Regions from separate parts of the Homo sapiens genome. Here region 2 is linked to region 1. Evidence: promoter capture Hi-C in 16 types of primary human blood cells and fetal thymus (Javierre and others, 2016). All regions are on one chromosome and are shown on one strand. The core of a region is centred on a gene start or on the middle of the fragment in contact, and the rest is flanking DNA. Distances in the headings are between cores, read along the strand shown.

Region 1 (5,514 bases), core at 1,818-4,317:
CCAGACTCAAACCGTTCTTTTGCGAAACCATCTCTCTATCCAGACATCTTTGGATTTAAGAATCAACCTGAGGCTGGGCACAGTGGCTCACACCTGTAATCCCAGCATTTTGGGAGGCCGAGGTGAGCAGATCGCTGGAGCCCAGGAGTTTAAGACCATGCTGGGCAACATAGCAAGACCCTGTCTCTAAAAAATAAAAAAATTTGCTGGGTGTGGTGGCATGTGCCTGTAGTTCCAGCTGTTTGGGAGGCTGAGGCAGGAGGATCGCTTGAGCCCAGGAGGTCAAAGCTATGGTGAGCTGTGATCATGCCACTGTACTCCAGCCTGGGTGACAGAGCAAGATCCTGTCTCCAAAAACAAACAAAAAATCAATCTGAGCCAAGCAGCTGCATCCTCTAGAAGCTCTTTGCCTTTTAGGACCTGTTTCTACTTCCAGGTCATTTGCACACACCAGATGGAGTAGGACTTGAGGGGAAACACAATTGTGTGTCATTTCCATTTCTGTGCAAGGTGCTGAGCCCAGGAAAGTGGACCCCTCATCCTCCAAACCCATAACCCCATCCCTTGAGACCAAGCATGTGGGGGAGGCAGGAGAAGCCTTTCTAGGAACCAGAAACATTCTAGTTCCCTCACTTCTCCCCTTTACACATGCGCGTACACACGCATGCACACGCGCACTGTCCCCACCTATTCAGGGTGCCTGAGAAGGGCCAGGAAAAGATGGGTTCTCTGGGAATCTGGGAAGTCCTCCCTGGGGCAGGATCCAGGTCCTTGTCCTCCCAGGGCTGGAGTGTACAATCTACAGATTCAACTCATGGTGGCTGGAACTCTCAGCTAATCTAGCCTCCTCCCCTTCCACAGCAGCTTGAATACCTCCTGTGCCCAGGACTTCACTACCTCTCAGGGCAGCCCATTCTCTCCAAATTTCTGGACGGCAGCTCAGGCCCCTGGATGCAGCCATGACTGCCATAGCACCAGAATCGTTCTTCCAGGCTGGGCTGTGCCCCTGCCCCCATGCCAAGGGTGCTTTCGTATAAATTTTGGTGCTTCTGCTGCCTAGGCTGCAGTAAGGCACTGGTGAGGGGTGCACTTGGGGAAGGGTTGTCATCAGGCTGTGTCGGGAAGGTCTATGGGTACTGAACTGGGAAGATTCAAGACTGCCACTTCACAGACTTGCTGAAGGACCATCTGCTCAGAGGAGTCCCTGCCTTCCTCTGGCCACCACTTTTCCCTCTGCGAAGGGGAGAGGATGAGTTGAGTGACTCTGATGACCCCCGCCAACGTTCTGGATGATCCCCTTTTCCTCTGCCCTGCCCTGCCCTCCCCTTTCTCTCCCATGCATTTGGCACTTCCTGCTGCCCCCACCAGGGGTCCACAGAGACACAGGACAGGCTGTGGCTTTGACTTGCTTTATTGAGCCTGTGTGGGAGCAGGGAGCAAGCTTTGGCCAGAGCCAAGGGTGCAGAGGGGAGAGCTGGGCTGGCGCTGCTCATGGAGTCGTAGGAGACAGAAGGTGGCATTATAAGTCCAGCGGGCTGAGCTCCCTGTGAGGACAGGGCAGAACATGGCAGTGTAGGGGGTAGGCCTCGTGCCCTCAGGAGGCCTCAGGCTGGCCCTGGGCTCCTGTTCTCCCTCTTCCACCCCCCACTACACCTTTCCAAGCCCTGATTCAGTCCCACCACCCCCATTTCAGCTCCAGGGAGCTGGACAGACAGGGCAGGGAGTCAAACTCACCTGGGGACAGCAGCATGCGGGGACCCCCACTCCGAGAAGGCCAGCGTGTCCTCTTTGTGTCTTTTCCCATACCTGGGAGGGAAGAGGCAGCAGGGGCAAGCACTGTGCCCAGGTGCCAGCCCACCTGTTTCATATCTGCCTGTAGGCACCATCTTGCCCAGGGCACATTGGTCTAGGCCTGTTGAGCACAGATGCCCTGTTTTCCCAAGAGCAGGCCTGGAAGGGGCTGGGGCTGGGGCTGGGGATAGGGTGTGGCCAGGAATGTGGAGTGGGCCCAGGGTCCCAGGGGCTGGGATCTCTCTCCCCAACTGTGGCACACACCTAGGCCTGGTCAGCATGTTGATGTATCTACGGAGATCAGCTGCATACTGGGCCATCTGCTCTGGTGTGGCATTGTCCCCTGGGTACACTGGCTCCAGTGGGGCTCCCTGGGCACCCAGCAGTGGCTGTAGTAACAGAGCCACGCAGGTGGACAGGAGCAGCAGGGAGAGGCAGAGGCGTGCGGCAGCCATCTGAGGAGCAAGCAGAGGGGAGGTGGAGAGCCCGGGCTGCAGATTTTCCCGTGCCCAGGAAGCAGGGCCCAACTATCCAGCCCCTTAGCCCATCATCCATTTCTCCAAGCCTGGGGACAAGGGGGCAGAGCAAAGGGCCACTCCAAGCTGGCCACTCCACCTCCTAGACACTGCTCTGAAGGCACGGACAGCCTGTCCTGTGAGCAGCCCAGCAAGCCAGGGCCTCGCAAGTTAGAAAAGTATAGCAGAGAAAATGGGGATGTGAGTCCTGGAGACACGGGACTCATGACATCCAGGGCCTCATGGCTCCCAGGAGGCAGCAGCTAGTGGGAATAAGGGCATGCCAGGTCACCCACAGGGTGGGGGACACAGAATGAACTCGGGAAGCCAAGGACAGAAATCCATGGCCTTGTGGGTCTGGCCCTCCACCCTGCGATAGAGACACAGATATCGGTCCTGGAGAAGACGCTACTGTCCATGTCGTCCTGCACAGACCAGCAAAGGCACTCACACAGGGACCCCAGTCACTCACAAGGTCACAGTCACACATTCCAGTTCACAGCCATGCACACGAGTGTGCACACACACGTGCAGTCAGCAGACGGCTCTTCTAGCGTGACAGGTCTGTCCAGATGCAGAAAGCAAGACCCAAGCAGGACCTTAGGCCTCCCAAGGCCCCTGGCCCTGCAAAGCACCACCTCCTCTCCATCCCAGGCCCCAGCCTGGGGGAGGCCCCCAGAGCCCCAGGCAGGCTGAGCCCACTTACCCGGAGTCCAGAGTAAATGGGCACTAGACCAAGCGAGCACCTGCCTCAGGCCGGATGGGCCCCTGCCCTCGGCTGGGCCGCTTTATAGTCCTCAGCCCCCCAGAGTCCCCGCCTCCTGTCAGCCTCTCTCACTCCGAAGCCCTCACCCCTCCTCTCACTGTCTCCTCATACTGGCAACGCCAGTACTGAGGCCAGAGACGGGAGGGGGACAGGGCAGTTCTGTGGGTGCCAGACCAGCAGCATAACAGATAAAACTGGACCACAGTAAAAGTCTCCTGTGGGCCCCCATCACTGACACCCCTTCCCTTTGGGCACCAGAGCAGGCTTGGTTCAAGAAAGATGGGGTTCTGGGACTCGAGAGTGACTGAAAGGTTTTGGTCACAGGCCTTGGAACTAGCTCTCCTGCCTCCCAAAGATCAACCCAAATCATCCAACGGATTCTCTTGGGGCAGAAGATTGAGGCTGCAGCTGGAAGACTGAGGCTACAGCCAGAGCCTCCAGGCTGAAGAATGGAAACTCAGGCCATCCTCTGCAGCTTGCAACTAGAACAAGGTGGGAAGAGGGAAGGGGCCTCAGGTCCTCAGGCAAGGTGGAAAGGAGTGGGGTGCCAGGCTTGGAGAAACCCATTTGGTGGGTGCATAGGATGCAGAATGAGAACTCATGTGCCTGGGTTCAGGGGAAATGTTGAGGGGGGTGCCGGTTTCCAGTATCCATTTCCCTCCCCATCTCAGAGCCCCCATTCCAGGGAAGTGCTAAAAACCAGCTTCATTTGTAAAGCCTCACATTTTCCAAAGTGCTGCCAGCTCAGTCACCTCACTAAATCCCCACAACAACCCATTTTACAGATTCAGGATCTGAAATCTGCTCAGAGATGTCAAATCACTGGCCCCAAACCCCACAGCCAGTCAGACCCCAAAATTTAACTCCAAACCTGGACTGTTTTTTTTCCTAAGTGGGGCCGTCAAAGTATTGTTATAATTTCCCACTTTTTGGCTGAGAAACCTGAGGCTCACAGAGGTAAAGACGCTTGCTCAAGATCTCATAGCTACCGAGGTTCCGAATTCTGGCTTAGATTCTCAACCCCACTAATCCATCCCCACCAGAAGCCCCTGAGTCTCCCCTGCCCAGCGTCTCTTCCCAACCCCCAGTCTCCCTCCCCTGCTTAGGCCAAGGAGTGGTAACTGGCTGTGTCTGAATGACACGGTGACACCAAGTACGGAGCTAAGGACTTATGACTGCTGACGTTCTGCTGTCCCAGATCAGTATACCAAGAAGTTGGGAGATGGGGGGGACTGTTGGGGAAGAGGGGACTGGAGGTGAAACTCCAGGGATCTGGCAGGGTGGGCTTAGAGTCAGACAGACCTGGGTCCAAATCCTGGCTCTGCATTGGCTGGCTCTGTGAGCCTGGGAAAGTAATTTCTTTAGCCTCTCTGAGCTTCACTTTTCCTCTCAGTAAAATAGGCTCATCACACCCATCTGAAGATAGGGAGAATAAAGGAAGGCTCAGCAAACATCAGTGTTCTGCCTTGACCCTCTCAATTTTGATTTTGGTTAACAAGAAGAGCAATAATGCTTCACCAGACAACTTACATTCCACAAAGCAAATACGAAAGTCATTCTGTCTCAGCAAGCCCGGGCCTTTCTCTGGACTGAGGTTTTCCACTTGCAAAACAAGGGTGTGAATTGGTGGCTGGTCTCAGCCTGGCCTTGGGTTTGGCGGGTAGAGGTTGCAGCTCGCCGCCAGAGGGCGCCAGGCTCCAACCCTAGTTAAAAGGATCTGAGCTCCCACAGGACCATGGCCTTGGAGGGACCTGTTCTGGCTGCTACTCATGTGGGGACCCAGCCCCACCCAACAGACAATGGATCTAGGGATTGACTCAGATGCCAGGGCCACTTACAGTTCTATCCTGTCGCAGAGGTAAACCTAAGTGCCTAAGAAATAACAGGCACTCCACAAATGTCAACCAAACCGTAGCTTTCATTTTTCTCCTTTGCAAACAACAGATTCCTCTTCTGGGTCCTCTCAGGGATGTGGTGACAATCCAGGAGGAAGTGGTAGTAGATGTGCTTTCTACACTGCATGGCCATGTGTATTAGTTCCTTCTCATACTGCTTTGAAAAGAACTGCCCGAGGCCAGGCGCAGTGGCTCACGCCTGTAATCCCAGCACTTTGGGAGGCTGAGGCAGGCGGATCACCTGAGGTCAGGAGTTCAAGACCAGCCTGGCCAACATGGTGAAACCCCATCACTACTAAAAATACAAAAATTAGCCGGGCGTGGTAGCGCATGCCTGTAATCCCAGCTACTTGGGAGGCTGAGGCAGGAGAATCACTTGAACCAGGGAGGCAGAGGTTGCAGTGAACCGAGATCGTGCCGCTACACTCCAGCCTGGGCTGTAACAGAGTGAGACACCATCTCAAAAAACACACAAAAAACAAAAAGAACTACCTGAAATTGGGTCATTTATAAAGGAAAGAGGTTTAATTGACTCACAGTTCAGCAT
Region 2 (5,164 bases), core at 159-2,658, 100 kb after region 1:
AGAGCCACTTGAATTTTTGCCAGAGAGAAAATAAAATGGATATAAATCTCAGCCAGAAGTGATTCTTTAGACAGGCTGAGTAACAATGACACACTGGTTATAGAACAATGATTTCAAAATACACCCCCCACCCCCGCCAAAATACCAGTTGTGCAAGTGCAATCTCCCCTAAAGTCTCCAAAAGCAAAGGAGAATGGACTAGACAATTCTCTATTTCAATTCTAATGCAAACATCCCAAATGCTAAATGATGTAAGGGAGCACTTAGAAAAGTCAGCAGAAATGACTGTAAGCTGACTGTATATATTTTCAGTTTGCCCCCAATATACTCAACCTACAGTAATGCTTTAGGGATCCGGACTCAGCTACACAGATCTGCTTTTACCAGGAAGCTGTACAAATGGGATAAAATCTCCTAGAGAGGACCCCATCAATTAGGGGTCCCCATCAATGGGGGAGACCGCTCTCAATAAAAGAAACTAGAAGTGTTTCCTTTTTTCAAAATTGAGGGTGGGGAGAAGGAGATTACCTTGCCCTTTTTTGTCATGAAAACTCATGCAGAACATGAATATGCCTTCTTTTGTAAAGCAAACGATTATCACTCTACCCTCAATTTAGCTGCTGTACAAATCTAAATTTTCCCACATATTTTTGCAAATGACTATATACCTATAAATGGCCCAATTATTCCAAGTTAGTAAGTTTATGGTTTTTGCCAAACCACTGGAGAGAACCAATAAAAGCTGCCCTCAGTAGAGAAAGTGTAGAATGTGCCTTTTAGGCTTGGGAGGGCCACCAAGATTACTTTTTAAAATCTATTTCTTTTTTTTTGAGACAAAGTCTTGCTCTGTCGCCCAGGCTGGAGTGCAGTGGTGCGATCTCAGCTCACTGCAACCTCCGCCTCCCAGGTTCAAGGGATTCTCCTGCCTCAGCCTCCCAAGTAGCTGGGATTACAGGTGCCCACCACCACGCCTGGCTAATTTTTGTATTTTTAGTAGAGACAGGGGTTCACCATGTTGGTCAGGCTGGTCTCGAACTCCTGACCTCGTGATCTGCCCGCCTCAGCCTCCCAAAGTGCTGGGATTACAAGCGTAAGCCACCATGCCTGGCCTTAAATCTATTTCTATAGTTTTTCCTTTACTAGATATTTCATATAAATGGAATGATACAATGTGTTGACTTACGTCTCTGGCTTCTTCCACTTAGCACATTTCTGAGGTTCATCCATTTTGTTTCATGTACCAATAGTTTTTTAAATTGCTAGGAAGCATTCCACTATGAGGATACAGTTCTACCTTTTATATATTCATTCACTAGTTGATGGACAGTTGATCAAAATCTGAATTGTTTCCAGTTTTGTTTTTTGTGTTTTCTGAAACAGAGTCTCACTCTATCACCCAGGCTGGAATGTAATGGCACAATCTCAGCCCACTGCAACCTCCACCCACTGGGCTCAAGCAATCCTCCCACTTCAGCTTCCCAAGTAGCTGGGACCACAGAAGCACACCACCACGCCCAGCTAAGGTGTTGTATTTTTTTGTAGAGACAGGGTTTCACCGTATTGCCCAGGATAGTCTTGAACTCCTGAGCTCAAACGATCCACCCACCTTGGCCTCCTAAGGTGCTGGGATTACAGGCATGAGCCACCCTACCCGGCTGTTTCCAGTTTTTGGCAGCAGTCACACACAAGTCTTTGTGTATGTAAAAGTAAAAATATTTTACTTTTTTTTTTTTTTTTTTGAGACGGAGTCTCGCTCTGTCTCCCAGGTTGGAGTGCAGTGGCGCGATCTTGGCTCACTGCAAGCTCCGCCTCCTGGGTTCACGCCATTCTCCTGCCTCAGCCTCCCGAGTAGCTGGGACTACAGGCGCCCGCCACCACGCCCGGATAATTTTTGTATTTTTAGTAGAGACAGGGTTTCACCCTGTTAGCCAGGATGGTCTTGATCTCCTGACCTCATGATCCGCCCGCCTCGGCCTCCCAAAGTGCTGGGATTACAGGTGTGAGTCACCATGCCCAGCCAACGTTTTACTTTTTAAAAGTAAAAAGATTTTGCTTTTTAAAAGTAAAAAGTCTCTGTGTGTGGACATGTTTTTACTTTTGTTAGGTAGATAACTAAGAGTAGAATTTCTGGGTCATATGGTAAGTGTATGTTTAATTTTTAAAGTAATTGTTTTCCTGCTAGTGAAGTTTCCTTAAAAACAAAACAAAATGGCCGGGTGCAGTGGCTCACGCCTGCAATCCCAGCACTTTGGGAGGCCGAGGCGGATGGATCACGGGGTCAGGAGATCGAGACCATCCTGGCTAACACGGTGAAACCCCGTCTCTACTAAAAATGCAAAAAATCAGCCGGGGATGGTGGCGGGCGCCTGTAGTCCTAGCTACTCGGGAGGCTGAGGCAGGAGAAAGGCGTGAACTCAGGAGGCGGAGCTTGCAGTGAGCTGAGATTAATGCGCCACTGCACTCCAGCCTGGGCAACAGAGCCAGACTCCGTCTCAAAAAAAAAAAAAAAAAAGGAACTGTCAAACTGTTTTCTTTTTTTTTTTCTTTTTTTTTTTTTTTTGCTGGAGTGCAATGGCGCGATCTTGGCTCACTGCAACCTCCGCCTCTGGGGTTCAAGTGATTCTCCTGCCTCAGTCTCCCGAGTAGCTGGGATTACAGGCGCCCGCCACCACGCCTGGCTAATTTTTTGTATTTTTAGTAGAGATGGGGTTTCACTATGTTGGCCAGGCTGGTCTCGAACTCCTGACCTCGTGATCCACCCGCCTCGACCTCCCAAAGTGCTGGGATTACAGGCGTAAGCCACAGCGCCCGGCCCTAATGTTTGATAGTTCTAAATCTGCCACCTACTCACCAACACTGGGTACTGTTAGCCTTTCTGATCTCAGCCATTTTAGCAGAAGTATAGCAGTTTCACACTGTGGTTTTCACTTGTACTTCCCTTTATGTCTAATGATATCAAGCATCTTATGTGCTTATTTGTAATTACTGTATCTTCTCTGATACAGTATTCAAAGCTTTTGCCCATTTTTAATTGGACTGTCTTTTTTTTGAGATGGAGTCTTGCTCTGTCACCCAGACTGGAGTGCAGTGGCACCATCTCAGCTCACCACAACCTCTGCCTCCCAGGTTCAAGCAATTCTCCTGCCTCAGCCTCCAGAGTAGCTAGGACTACAGGCCCACACCACCACGCCCAGCTAATTTTTGTATTTTTAGTAAAGACAGGGTTTCACCACGTTGGCCAGGCTGGTCTCAAACTCCTGACCTCAGGTGATTCACCTGCCTCGGCCTCCCAAAGTGCTGGGATTACAGGCATGAGCCACCATGCCCAGCCTGGATTGTCTTATTATCATTATTATTTTCTTTTTTGAGATAGGTCTTGCTCTGTTGCCCAGGCTGGAGTGTACTGGCATAATCATGGCTCACTGCAGCCTTGACCTCCTTGGCTAAAGCAATCCTCCCACCTCAGCCTCCCAAGCATCTGGAACCACAAGCAAGGACCACTATGCCTGGCAGGTTTGTTTGTTCTGTTTTTTTTTTTTTAATTTTATGTAGCGATGGGGTCTCCCTGTGTTCCCTAGGCTAGTCTCAAACTCCTGATCTCAAATCATCCTCCCACCTCAGCCTCCCAAAGTGCTGGAATTACAAGCATAAACCACCAAGCCCGGGCTGCCTTATTAAGAGTTCTTGGCTGGGCGTGGTCACTCACACCTGTAATCCTAGCACTTTGGGAGGCTGAGGAAGGCCGATCACTTGAGCCAGGGGTTCAAGACCAGTGTGGACAACATAGACAGTGTCCGTATTAAACACACACACACACACACACACACACACACACACACACACACACACGCAAATAAAAAGAGTTCTTTATACATTCTGGACACAAGTGCTCTGTAAGATGTATGTTTTGCAAATTATTTCTCCCAGTCTATGGCTTGTCTTTTCATTTTCTTTATGCAGCAAAACATAGAAAAATTTTTTCCAGGCCAAGAGCAGTGGCTCATGCTTGTAATCCCAGCACTTTGGGAGGCCAAGGCAGGCAGATCACTTGAGCCCAGGAGTTCGAAACCAGCCTGGTCAACATAGCGAAACCCCATCTCTACAAAAATTACAAAAATTAGCCGGGCACAGTAACATGCACCTGTAGTCCCATCTACTTGGGAGGCTGAGGCAGAGGAATTGCTTGAACCCGGGAGGCGGAGGTTTCAGTTAGCCGAGCTTGCACCACTGCACTCTAGCCTGGGTGACAGAGAGAGACTCCATCTCAAAAAAAAAAAAAAAAAAAGTAACCATAAAAATTCAATGACTATCACCCATACTACACCCATTTTCAATGCAAACATGCTAGCTGCTGGCCTCACTACCAATCAGTTAGAAGCACTAACTGGTTAGCATCTCAAAGAATAAAAAGCACCAAGTTTAAGAACACACTGGGTTCAGGCAAACCAAGAAGCATAAACTTACAAATATTTGTTATTAATGTGCATATGGCTTACTTGAAATCACTGCACATGACAATCTGTGCTTACCTGGCTCTCCTTTCATTCTGCATGATTCCCAGTGAAAACACAGTCCTTGTATACTAACCAGTGTTTCCTCCTGTGCCCGTTTTATATATAGCACCTTGATGTGGGCAAAGGAGAAAAGTATATGCATTCGATATCAAAGCACATCAATATTAAAAGGCTTCTAGGCCAGGCACAGTGGCTCATTCCTATAATCCCAGCACTTTGGGAGGCCAAGGCAGGAAGATCACTTGAGGCCAGGAGTTCAGACTAGCCTGGCCAACATTGTGAAACCCTGTCTCTACTGAAAATACAAAAATTAGCACCGGGCATGGTGGTGTGCACCTGTAGTCCCAGCTACTTGGGAGGCTGAGGCAGGACAATCACTTGAACCCGGGAGACGGAGGCTGCAGTGAGCTGAGCTTGTGCCACTGCACTCCAGCCTGTGTGACAGAGACTCTGTCTTTAAAAAACAACAACAACAACAACAAAAACAAAACGAACAAAAAAAACCGGCTTCTAATCATGCCTGATGCTGGGTAACCCTTATTTTTGTTTGTTTGTTTTTGTTTTTAAGAGACAGGGTCTCACTCTTCTGCCCAGGCTGGAGTGCAGTGCCATGATCCTACACAATGCAGTCACAAACTCCTGGGCTCAAG

Evidence for each region. The method cuts DNA at HindIII sites, captures the fragments that hold promoters and counts their contacts. A CHiCAGO score of 5 or more calls a contact.
Region 2: a fragment that was not itself captured here is called in contact with the fragment with the promoter of PPY in region 1 in 4 of 17 cell types (naive B cells, naive CD8 T cells, naive CD4 T cells and 1 more); the score reaches 6.1 in naive B cells.

Annotation. Positions count from the first base shown.
Region 1 is chr17:43,939,409-43,944,922 of GRCh38, forward strand. PPY (pancreatic polypeptide) reads right to left here and starts at 3,068. Exons shown (of 4, transcript NM_002722.5): 1 at 3,013-3,068; 2 at 2,056-2,246; 3 at 1,735-1,806; 4 at 1,396-1,544. The coding sequence starts at 2,246. The coding sequence ends at 1,520. The HindIII fragment of the contact is 11,028 bases long and covers 1,440-5,514 here.
Region 2 is chr17:44,044,216-44,049,379 of GRCh38, forward strand. All of the region lies in intron 2 of LSM12 (LSM12 homolog), which reads right to left. Among named protein-coding and RNA genes, the nearest start is that of LSM12, 20 kb to the right of the region's middle. The HindIII fragment of the contact is 3,208 bases long and covers 1-3,012 here.